2 separate regions of the Homo sapiens genome follow, and region 1 is linked to region 2. The links are contacts of gene promoters, found by promoter capture Hi-C in blood cells and fetal thymus (Javierre and others, 2016). All regions are on one chromosome and are shown on one strand. Each heading gives the region's core, a stretch centred on a gene start or on the middle of the fragment in contact. The rest is flanking DNA. Distances are from core to core; before and after follow the strand shown. Region 1 overlaps GRM1 (glutamate metabotropic receptor 1). Region 2 holds the start of ADGB (androglobin).

Evidence for each region. The method cuts DNA at HindIII sites, captures the fragments that hold promoters and counts their contacts. A CHiCAGO score of 5 or more calls a contact.
Region 1: a contact is called between a fragment that was not itself captured here and the fragment with the promoter of ADGB in region 2, in 1 of 17 cell types (M1 macrophages). The highest score is 5.2, in M1 macrophages.

What each region holds. Positions count from the first base shown.
Region 1 is chr6:146,350,309-146,356,060 of GRCh38, reverse strand. It overlaps GRM1 (glutamate metabotropic receptor 1), which reads right to left. Exons shown (of 8, transcript NM_001278064.2): 4 at 3,565-3,811. Among named protein-coding and RNA genes, the nearest start is that of RAB32, 190 kb to the left of the region's middle. The HindIII fragment of the contact is 152 bases long and covers 3,804-3,955 here.
Region 2 is chr6:146,594,900-146,600,237 of GRCh38, reverse strand. ADGB (androglobin) reads right to left here and starts at 1,266. Exons shown (of 36, transcript NM_024694.4): 1 at 1,124-1,266. The coding sequence starts at 1,197. ADGB-DT (ADGB divergent transcript) reads left to right here and starts at 1,307. Exons shown (of 3, transcript NR_125860.1): 1 at 1,307-1,405; 2 at 2,067-2,168; 3 at 3,734-5,338. RefSeq lists a silencer at 1,171-1,465. The HindIII fragment of the contact is 3,644 bases long and covers 1-3,405 here.

The DNA of each region.
Region 1 (5,752 bases), core at 2,630-5,129, 250 kb after region 2:
GTTGCTATTCACTCTATAATTAATGCTGCAGTTTCCCAAAGCTGCATGCTTGGTTGCTCCTTACTAGTTCTGCAAAGTGGGATTCTATTCTGCAGTACCTATGCAAAGTGCTCGTCCTCCTGGACTAGAAGATGAGTCACGGCCTCTTGCTCTTTGTGCTTGACTGAAGGAAATGGCAATTAATCAACACATACTCTTCTTCATCAGCTCTCTTCATCCCTCGCCCCTCTCACACGCCCCTGCTTAATCCTTCCTGCAATTCTTTCTCTCTAAACTGACTCATGTTCACAATCCCTCTCAGCCTAACACTCCAGGAGGCTACAGCCAATCAAACTAAGTTGGCATCTGAAATCTATTGGCTGTATCTGGCCTAGTTTTTTTGTTTGTTTGTTTGTTTTTCAATCTAGACAAGGAATGTCAGTTGATTGGGTTTTCTGCTTGTTCTTAATGTGCAAATGCATTCTGTCACCCACAGGGTAGCTAATGGCTTCTCCACATCCAGATTCTTGCAATTTCTACAAATAGTTGTCCCCTAAAAGAAAAGGTATTCTGGGAAAGTAAAGAAAGCTCTCCTTTGCCAGGTAAACAAAATGCACTTAGAATGAGAAGAGAGAATGGTACACCCAGAGCACATTATTCATCTCTTTGCTGTGTTGACTTTTGACTGATAAAGAGTTATTAGCCCCCAGTTGCTAGACATACCAGAAAGTTATTCAGAGTATCTTTCTGAGTGATATCCAAGTGAGAATTAACTGTGGGCTGCTGGCTCACACTCATCCTGTTGATCAATGACACTAATCTACACCTCTGATATCTTTCCATTTTAGATTCATTAGAGCTATAGAACCTGTTGTGCTGTTGTGAGTGCTTGATGTGAGTAATTTCCATTTTCATTTCCAGGAATTTTTGTGTTTTATTTCAGATTACATTAATACAGCTTCTCACATACAAAGAAGGCTTTGCTGCAATGCTGGCTCTAGAATGTCTTTTTCCTTTAAATCAGTTTCCAAAGACTTTTATTTTAGCTTCCTCATTTGCTTTTTCATAAGAGAAATCAGTTCACACTTCATTAGCATTTAGAAACAAAAAAAATTCACAATATTTTGGTATAAAACACATTTTTTTAAAAAGTCCCAAAAGCTGGGAAAAAAACTATGGAAAAATATCCAGGGAAAAATACTGACTTCATTTTAAGAAGCCTTCCTCATACTGTGTGTATTACTGAACACTGCCCTTTTCCTTTGACCCCAGGGTTCCTTCCAGGCATGTTGGTTTTTATTTTGGAATTTTTATGCTATAAATTACATATTTACAACATCCTCTCAATGCATTCAGTTTACATTGTGTGATGATTAACTGAAATAATTACAAGAGGGACCAAAAGCATGAACGATGGTATGACAGGAGGAGGAAGTACAGGGAGATTTTTGAAACAGAAATTGAAAACGGATTATGCCAACCAATTGCAAGCAGAAGGATATGATCCCTAAGAAAAGACCCAGGGGAAAGCTTAAGTAACATTTGAATATTTAATTAAAGATGGAGAAGAAACAAGCTAAAATTATGCACCGACATTTTAGATAACTTGTAGAGAGAGAAGAGGAGTAAACTTGAATACATGAAGTGTCAAAAATGCATCTGGCCTTGTGCTAGGCACATTGTATGTTATCTTTGGGAATCATGAAGGAAGGTTTACATTCTAATTCTGACCCTTATTGAGCCTAGGGTCCAGTGGGACACAGGATGAAAGAGGGTTTACAGAGGCAGGTAGTCAATGTTCTGAACCTCAGACTCACTTGTTGCTCCTAGTACCATTTCCTCGAAGCTTTTCACATGCCCAGTTCCTGAATCATTCCATCTACCTCACTCGCATTCCAGTCAAAACCTGCTCCCATCTAACTAGCAGCTTGGAAGAAATCTGATAAATTGATCATTTTAATTGCTGACAATGACTGATATCGTTTATCCTTCCTAGAGCTGTCAGATTTTAACAGGGAGAATCCACTTAGCTCTCACAAGGTACTCCCTAAGTGCAGGACTTCAAGCTGACACAAACAGATACATGGAGACTTACTTAGGGTCAAACAGTCCCTTACAGTACTTCTGAAATGACATTAAGAAGGTTGCCAGGCCGGGCAAAGTGGCTCACGCCTGTAATCCCAGCACTTTGGGAGGCCAAGGTGGGTGGATCACTTGAGGTCAGAAGTTCAAGATGAGCCTGGCCAACACGGTGAAACCCCATCTCTACTAAAAATACAAAAAAAGTAACCAGGTGTGGTGGTGCACACCTGTAGTCCCAGCTACTTGGGAAGCTGAGACAGGGGAATCACTTGAATCTGGGGGACAGAAATTGCAGTGAGCCGAGATTGTGCTACTGCACTCCAGCCTGGGCAACAGAGTGAGACTCTTTCTCAAAAACCGAAAAGAAGATTGCCAGCCACGTTGCCTAATTTTAGGATCTGCTAAAAGGCAGTGTGATGTTGTAAAAGATTAGAAGCCTCAGAGTGAGAGCACTTGCCTCCACCGCTTGCAATCTGTGGACATTAGGTGAGTTCCTTAGTTTCTCTGATACCCAGTTTTATTATCTGTAAAAGAAAGACAATGATCCACCTACAGCAATGAAGATTAAATGATTTGATGTTCCACTTGAACACAGCATATGCTTTTCTAAAAAGCTCTAAGTCTGGGACATCGTAGACTGACAGGTGACAGGGCCTATAAGACCCTGGGCTTGCTGAGTGGTAGCCAAGCTGAGGGCCTTTTTCCTTCTTCCTGAAGGTGTTAATTCTTCTGCCATTCTGATTATGCCTTTCCTAAGAAACTGTTTATGAATGAACACAACTATTCTTGATACTAACAAAATTTCCTATGTACCAATTATGCTTGAGCTAACTGGTAGTATCAAAACAAGTATTGCAGAGCAGACTGTATGTAAAACGGCTTGGAGAGGATTTTATGTATATACCTTGGTTTACTTTTCATCTGCTTTTTGTTTGATTAATAAGCCATAGGGGCTCAATCCCAAAAAGAAAGTTGTTTCCTTTCTTGCTCCAAGACATATGTTAGCACAAACATAGGTTAGCCTGAGGAGAAGGGACACATATGCAGGACTTAGTTCTCTTTGCATACTGAGCTCTTTAACCAGGTGTAATATTCAAAATATTTCATAACCAGAATGGTATATAGTCAATCAATCAGAAAGATGCTGGCCTGGTGCTGGCAAGGTCTGAGAGGTTTCTGCTGGCCAAGTGTAATTTCTTTAGGTTCCTGGGCTTGCAGGAAGGTCCCAAGCATTCTGGAAAAAGGGTCAAGTGATAGGTGAGTTAGGGGATGGCACTGGTAGAATACTGGGTATTGGGTGTTGAAAAAGAAGTATTTTAATGTCTTAAAAAGTGGTGTGGTCTTTGGTAATTTCATCTGATATTATCCCTGGACTTTTTGCTACCTAGTTGTATCTATCCTCATGGCACCCAGAAACCATGGAACCAGATGAAGCCACAGTTGCCATCTGTCTGGCACAGGAAGGCTCACAAGGTTACTTAGATTGATTACTGAAAAGATTACCTTCCAGGAGCGTCTCCTTTCTCATCAAACCACACCTCCTCTCCAGATACTCCAATGAATGAGGACTTGATGAGGAAGTCCAGCAGCTTGCTGCCGTCGATGGGCTTCATGGCATCGCAGAGGCCCACGTGGCCAGGGCAGAGGGCATGGTGCATGTTCTGCAGCCCATGTGCCATGGCATAGATGGCATTGATGACAAACCCCATCTTACTGTCCTGGACATAGTTTTCTTCTAAGCTTTCATTGCCTGTAACAATAAAAATAGATCACTACCAAGGTCACAATGATAAAGACTAGGCTCCCAGGTTTAATTCTCAAATGCTTTTGGGGGTTCTCAGAGGAAGGGAATGAGCAATGACACTGGCAGAAGCCACGCCCACCTGTGCAAGCTTTGTACTTGTGGCTAGCTCTAGCAGATTCCACCTGCAAATGATTTATTCAGTTTTATTCTCTCTATTCGATAATGGTTTTATGAGATATAAAACAAACTCCACAGAGGCGAAAATAAAGGACTTTTGAATATTGTAAAGAAATCCTGAAGGAGTAATGGAAATAACTCTTACTCCCTCTTTGTTCACAGGAACTTATATTAAATATCTTCCTATATCATGGTACTGGAAAAACATTTTTTGATTCCTTTATGACAATCTACAGTTTACAGGAATTCAATTTATGCATTATCTAAACCATGGTATTTTCTTTTGGTGATTCCACTATTTTTTTTTCATTTCTAGGGCCACAAAAATCCAGAGTTAGAACTGGTCAGTATGAATCTCTTCTTATATACGGTTGATGGGGCCGAAATATTTAAATCAGATTTGCTAGTTATTGGAAACTCAGGTAAAATGTTTCTTGATGGAAGAGTCACACTACACATTAATTTTAGCCTTTAGATTTTACCTGTGAATTTCAAAAACCCTGCAATCATTTCTACCTATGTCACAGGTGATCAAAAACTCCCCTACTGCCAAGCAGGTTTGCAAGAATGGTATTGTGTTAGATATAAGCTCCATATTGGAAGCCTAGACTTCAGGACTTAGATATGGATGAGAAATTTTGGGACCAACTGGGTTTGCTGAAATAAAGGTAAGAGGTTTGGAAAACAAAAAATATATTTGGAAAACATCACTGGCATAATTCAGAGACTTTAGTTGGTTCCTGAAATTTGCTTCTCTCTGCAGTGAGCATTTCCTCCCTCATTTGACTGATAGTAGGGGGTCGATGTGATGTGTGTTTGAAGTACTAGAAGGTGGGAAAGTCAGCAATTTAGCTGCATATGGGGTTGAGAACAACATGGGGCTCCTCACACTCCCTGCCAGCTGCCCTTTGTTCCAACCTAAATAGGTCACTGGACACTAAGGTTCCCAGGCTAAGACTAGCAGAGAAATATTTAGGATGTTAGACAGTTTGAGTCTTTAGAAGAAACGGTAAAGAGTTTTGACTTTGATATCGAACTTGGGATGAAAATGGACATTTTTAAAGAGTTCTATTTAAAGGCCTATTTAGATGTAGTCAAAAGTTTGAAAAGGATATCCTTATATCTACCCTGAGAGTGACATATAAAATACCCAGGCTAGGTTAAAGGGGAAGAAGATTAGATTTTAATCCATTTTCCAGCTTTGCAAGATAAGACATTGTTAAAAGTGTAATTTGCTAAAGCAATATTTTCCTGATTTAAAGGAAATTTTCCAAGAGGAAATGAGGAGTAAGATAGAGGAAGGGCATTTTAAAATCAAACCACACAAAATAAGTATAGAAAGTTACATAAGAAAGAAAAGATCCTCCTTCCAAAAATTGCAGATTCATTTAAACAGAGTAGCTTATGTCTGTCACTCAGAACCCATGGCCCTTACTGTTGGTTTTCTTTCTCTCCCTCTCCAACTTACTGGGACCATAAAAGAGGTAAATTTGTGCCATCTGCCTGATAACTCTTAAACAAGCCCTTATAGGCTCGCCTAGAACCCCAAATGCTAAATATTAAAGCTACTAGAATCATAGAAATTACCAAGAGTTAAAGAAAAAAAAAAACACAAAAATTGAGTGGCAAAATAACCTTGAAGACAGCAGCCCCTTAAAGTGTCCTGTCAATACTAAAACCATCACCCAAAGTTGCAGTCATTACAACCAACAACAGGGTCAAACTGTAGAAAAATATCAGAATAAATACACAATGTTCTTTACCAAATGA
Region 2 (5,338 bases), core at 17-2,516:
TATAAAATTATATATGTAATATTACTTATATATGTAATATCTAAAATTTAAGCTAGTAAAAGGAATGGATTATCTGCCGGGTAACTGGAAACCTGCTTATGAGAGAGGTTAGAACTAAGGGACTAGAGATTCACAGACATGGGAATGAGTCTGGGAGAAGAATTCACAAAGAAAAAGAGTTTAAATCCTAGGGATCAGTGAATCATAGGGATCAGTCCAATGTGGAATTCTTCAGCCAGGGAAGGAAATGGAGAAACAGGCATCAAGGATGTAAGAATTCAATTTGAAATGATTGATTGCATCGCCCTCCCCATCAGGCAGAGCATGAAGAACATGAATGATCCCACTGAAGCAGGGCGGGCAGCTGGGATTCTCTCACAGTGGGAATGAACATTAGAAATGGTGTAAGTTCAAACAGCCCCAATCCTATGCTGTGGATAACTGGATATCCCTAGGGAAACAGACCACAGAAAATAATAATCATGGGGAAGTACATCCTAAGACACAACACCTAACACCAGCCCAGGACAAAGGCACCATAAAAATTCCATGAGCGAGGGTCTGTTTACTTTCTCAGAGTAAATGTTAGTAACATGAACTATACATTTATAATGTTTTAAGGTTTAGAAGCCACTTTACGTCTGACTATATCTGATTAAAGATCGTAGTCGTTGGACTGGGCAGATGCAAACTAGAAAATCACCATTAAGGTGAAATGTGTCCATGTCTGTCTGTCACTCGCTGTCTGTATCATTTCCGGGGCCATGAAGATGTGGCTTTAACCAGAAGTATTTGAGATATGCCTCTTTCTTAGGAAAGCTATGGCCTTTCTAACTGCCTGAGAGGGCTATGAAGAAGAGGAGGGGTGGCAGATTCACCCATGGGAGCTGAACACCCAAAGCAAGAAAATCAGGGGCTCTGGGAAAGGAAGTGAGTCAAGACAAGCAAGAGAGAAGGATGAGAGCGAGCACCTCCAGGATCTGGTTTACCAGAGAAGACAAGCTGCGAGGAGGCCACTAAACTTCTGCCCTGGCACAGTTTGCTGCAGGGAGGCAGCCCCAGAACTAGTGGTGAGGTCGAGGGGCTAGGCCAGGGGAGGGACGGACAGGCAGAGGTCCCTTACTCTTTCGATTTATCCGATCCGTGCGCCGAGTTGATACGATGCACCTCTTTCTTTTTGGTTTGTTTGGAGGCCATGGCAGAAGCCGATCTATGTAGGGCTGAGCTCTGAGCAAAGAGCCTGCGGGCGCGCTCGGCTCCGCGTCTGCGTTGCCAGGAGACGGCGTCCCGCGTCCAGCGCCCGGAGAGCGGGGGCGGGGCCCTGGGGGCGGGCTCTGCGGCCTGTGGCTGCAGAGGGACGCAAGAGCATAAACTGAAATCCCACATCCCCGTGGAGGAACTTGGAGTTGGTGTCTGGGGAGAAATCGAGGTTCTGGGGCACGGGTTTGGCATTAGGATTACTGGGCAGCCCTGATTAATTGGAGTTCTGCAGGACCTACACTGCCTGGCTTTGCCCTTCGGAACCATAGACATATATCGACTCTTGAATATCCAACTATTTGAACGTAGATGTTATCCTAGTACCACCCCAGTTATTCTCTTGGCTAAATATAACAAGTACCTTCAATAATTACTAAGGAGACATTACAGACACGCTGAAATTGTCAATGGCTTGAAAACCTGGGGTCCAGAAATTAACACAGTGGGTGTAAGGAAGGCAAAATAATGACACCTTGAGTCGCTGAGGGCTAGGTGATGATATCTGTAATAAAACCAATAAGGTGTCTTGTTGTTCGAATGAAAGAGTGAGTCCAAGTCATGGGCTCAGGTGGTCCTTTGCAGACTTTCCAGAAAAGGTCCAGGGGCCAGATGACACAGACAGAACCAAGTAAAATGAAACTTATTAGGGCGCAGGCTTAAGGCTCAGTCATCAGTGGTGATTTGTTAGTTATCTTGCCTTGGGCTAGTTTTTCCCTTTGAGTCTCAGTTTACTCACTTATAAATAGGAGATGCCTATTACTCACTTATAAATAGGAGTTATACCTAACTCACAGTTCTGTTTTGAGGATAAGATGCAAAGCGCAGCAAATAGGAGCCACTCTTTCAGAGATGACAGACCACCTGGTTTCGAGGAGCAGCAGACAGCGTGAATGAATGAAGTTGGCCAGGTAAATACAGAGTAGTGGATACTATGCTTAACTGAGACATGCTTAGACTGCAAGAGCTTGCAAATTTATCAAAACAAAACAAAATATTGTGTTGGTTCAATATAACCTCACTTCAGAGATATCTGACACACAGCCCTTAGGCCTAGGACCACTACTACTGGTTGGTGTCTTTCATGAGCCTAGAAATAGTTAAGTATCTTTAAATAAAAGAAATCCCCTCCACTCATGGGACTGGGCACATGCTCACAGTTCCACCTGTGCAGGCAAGAGGCAGCTTCCTGCAGAGAAAATCTTTCAACTTCTCTGACAAATGAATGCTCAGGGCTCTCCACTCAGCATAGCCTATGGTTTGTCAGACTATCCCAATCTTATTACTATTGGATTACTACTGGGGGTTACCTAGATGACAGACAGCCCCTTCGTTGTATTTCTATATGCAAAATAAATAAATTCCAAGTCAGCAGTGTTAATATTATGACTACAAGACTGCCCTGCAAACATCTCCTATATATGTAAAGACAATGAACACATCATGAAGATTCTGCTTTGTTTATACCATAATTCAAATTTCCAGAGAACTCTCTTGAATGAAAGTAGAGGACTAAATGGTGAGAAAAATTATTTACTACCAAATTTTGTCAGAGTAATCAAATTTATAGCTATAAGTATATACAAAGACTCTTGGCTGAAAACAGCACAACTTTAAGCAGCCAACCCCACAGAGAGGTGAGTTTCTTCTTGAACAAGGGCTATCCTGCAGCCATTGTTAATGGCTGCAAGATGCCAAAAGAATTAGGGAAGATAAGCCTTAGAAATCAAAAGATCTACATCCCACCGGTATTTTATGGACAAATAACTCCAGGCGAAGACAAGCAAAATGTCTTGCCAAAAGTTGCTGGGTTATTTATTGATGGAATTTGGACTAAACACATTAAAGTCAGCATTGCCAGTTTAAGCCAAACATATCACTACTCCACTCAGAGCTTGCTTTTTAAACATCTATTAAATTAGGATAAAGTAAGGGGGTTGTCACCAGAATGGAATAAGATAATCATAAAAGATGTGACGAGTATAAGTTGCCTATTAATTCCTACGCCAGTGTTCTTTCTCCTTTATTATATTAAGAGTGCAACATGCATAAATGGAATTTCTCTTCTTTCTGGAGCTAAGGTTCTGGTCAGGCTGTAATTATAAGAGCAAATCTGTTCCTCTCTAAGATAGTTCTAGCTACAAAGCTTAACATGATATTTATTGTGGCAGTGCAAAAAAGACAATAGGTCCTACTGCTGTTTTTATTTTTCTTATAACTGTTGTCAATGTCACTTTGGAATAATAATAATAATAGCTGTGATTTATTGAGTACCTACTACATGCAAGGTTTAGGGAAGGGTGCTAACTCCTTTAGAGATAAACTTGAATTTAAATCCTGACTCTTGTTGGGTAATTATGGGTGAGTTATTTAACTTCCATTTTCTTTATTTGTGGAAAGGGAAGAATAATACCTCAAATATGCTTGACTCATCCCAAGCATTCAGAGAATTATAGCTAATGTTATTATTCCACAGGTAAAGAACTGAAATGCAGACAGGAAATGGGACTTGCCTGACATGGAGCAGGTGGTAGGTGGCAGAGGAAGATTGGCCACTCCATAACCTGTGCTCTCTCCAATTCTCTGGACTAACTGTCCATACAGATGATTGCCCTGGGACTGAGCTTAGGGATTTCCAAACTCTTGCTATTTAACAACTGTCAAAGACTGAGAAACAGGGCTTATATTTTATTCAAGCTACCCAGAATAGGGCCTCTCTCTAATCTATACTTCCTTTTCGGGGAAGAGATATTTGGCTTCAGGCAGCAGTAGCGCCTGCTCCCTAGGGAAGTGGTTAGAGGTACCCACTTCCCCATATCAGCAGAAACAAAACAGGCAGGAGTCTCTCTGCTTGAGGATCTGCCTAAATAGGGAAGTGAGAATTGGCAACCACTTCTCCCTCCACCAATGGGAATCCTAGATGGAGGGAACTGGGTGGGAGATGGCAGGGGTGGGCAGAGTGGCAGCATTTCTGTTTCTTAAATCCATAACTCCATCTTCAGACACTTGATTCCACAGCCATAGGGAATTGTATATATTTTGCTGCTCAGCTACCTCTTTGCAATTAGGTCAATTATAAAATTACTTGGAATTTAACCAGCCAAATGAGAAAGTATGCATTCTACATGTTCTGTGTAAGGTTGAATTTAACTGTCACTTCAAGTTCTGTTCTTTTCACATTTCCATGGAAATTTACACCCTTCTCCTTTATTTCCCACAGAACTTTATTTGTTCATCTTTTAAAATTCCTATAATATTCTGTCTTGTTTTTATTAATACTTATGCCTTGTTTTTTCTCCTTTACTAGACTGTAGGGTCACTCAAAGCAAAAACTCCTCTTCTACCAAATTCATTCACACTTTTGAAGCTCCTAAACCCTTAATAATAAGAGCTTACATTTGTTGAGCACTTGCTATGTGCTTGACCCTCTTCTAAGCTATTTTTCTGTATTAATTCACTTAATCCTTACAAACACCCTAGGGATTTGCTATTATAATCTCTCTTTTATAAATAGGAACATAGGCAAAGAGTGGCTAAATTAAGTTAGTAAGTGATCAGGCATGATTCAAACTCATGGCTCTAGACCCATGCTCTTTATAACCACATTATTCTGCCTCTGACACCTTCAGTGATCACAACCCTATGAAGTATGAAACTCTGCCCATTTTATAGCGAAGAAAATGAGCTTTAGAAAGGCAAAGCAACTTGCCCAAAGTCCAAAGCACAGGGGGAATGGAGTCAAAATGCATAGGTGAACACTTTGGTTTCAGAGTGCAGGCTCCTAAACTCTCTGCTACATACACACTGCCTACTTCAGAGTTCAAAACATATTTACTTCAGATCATTGGAAATGGTATTAAAAATCACAACTGACATTCAGTTGTGTCCAGTAATATTCAGTCTCTACACCTGTTAAGGAGAAGTTGGATCCTGCAGATATGAAACCTGCTGGCCCTGCCACAGAAAGCCCCGTTATTCTGGGAAAAATTGAATTTATAGTTTTAATGACCTGTGAAAGGAAATTCTGAATAGAGGTTCTTTAAAAAATGGGGGATATGGAAATAAGTTATTAGTTGAAAAA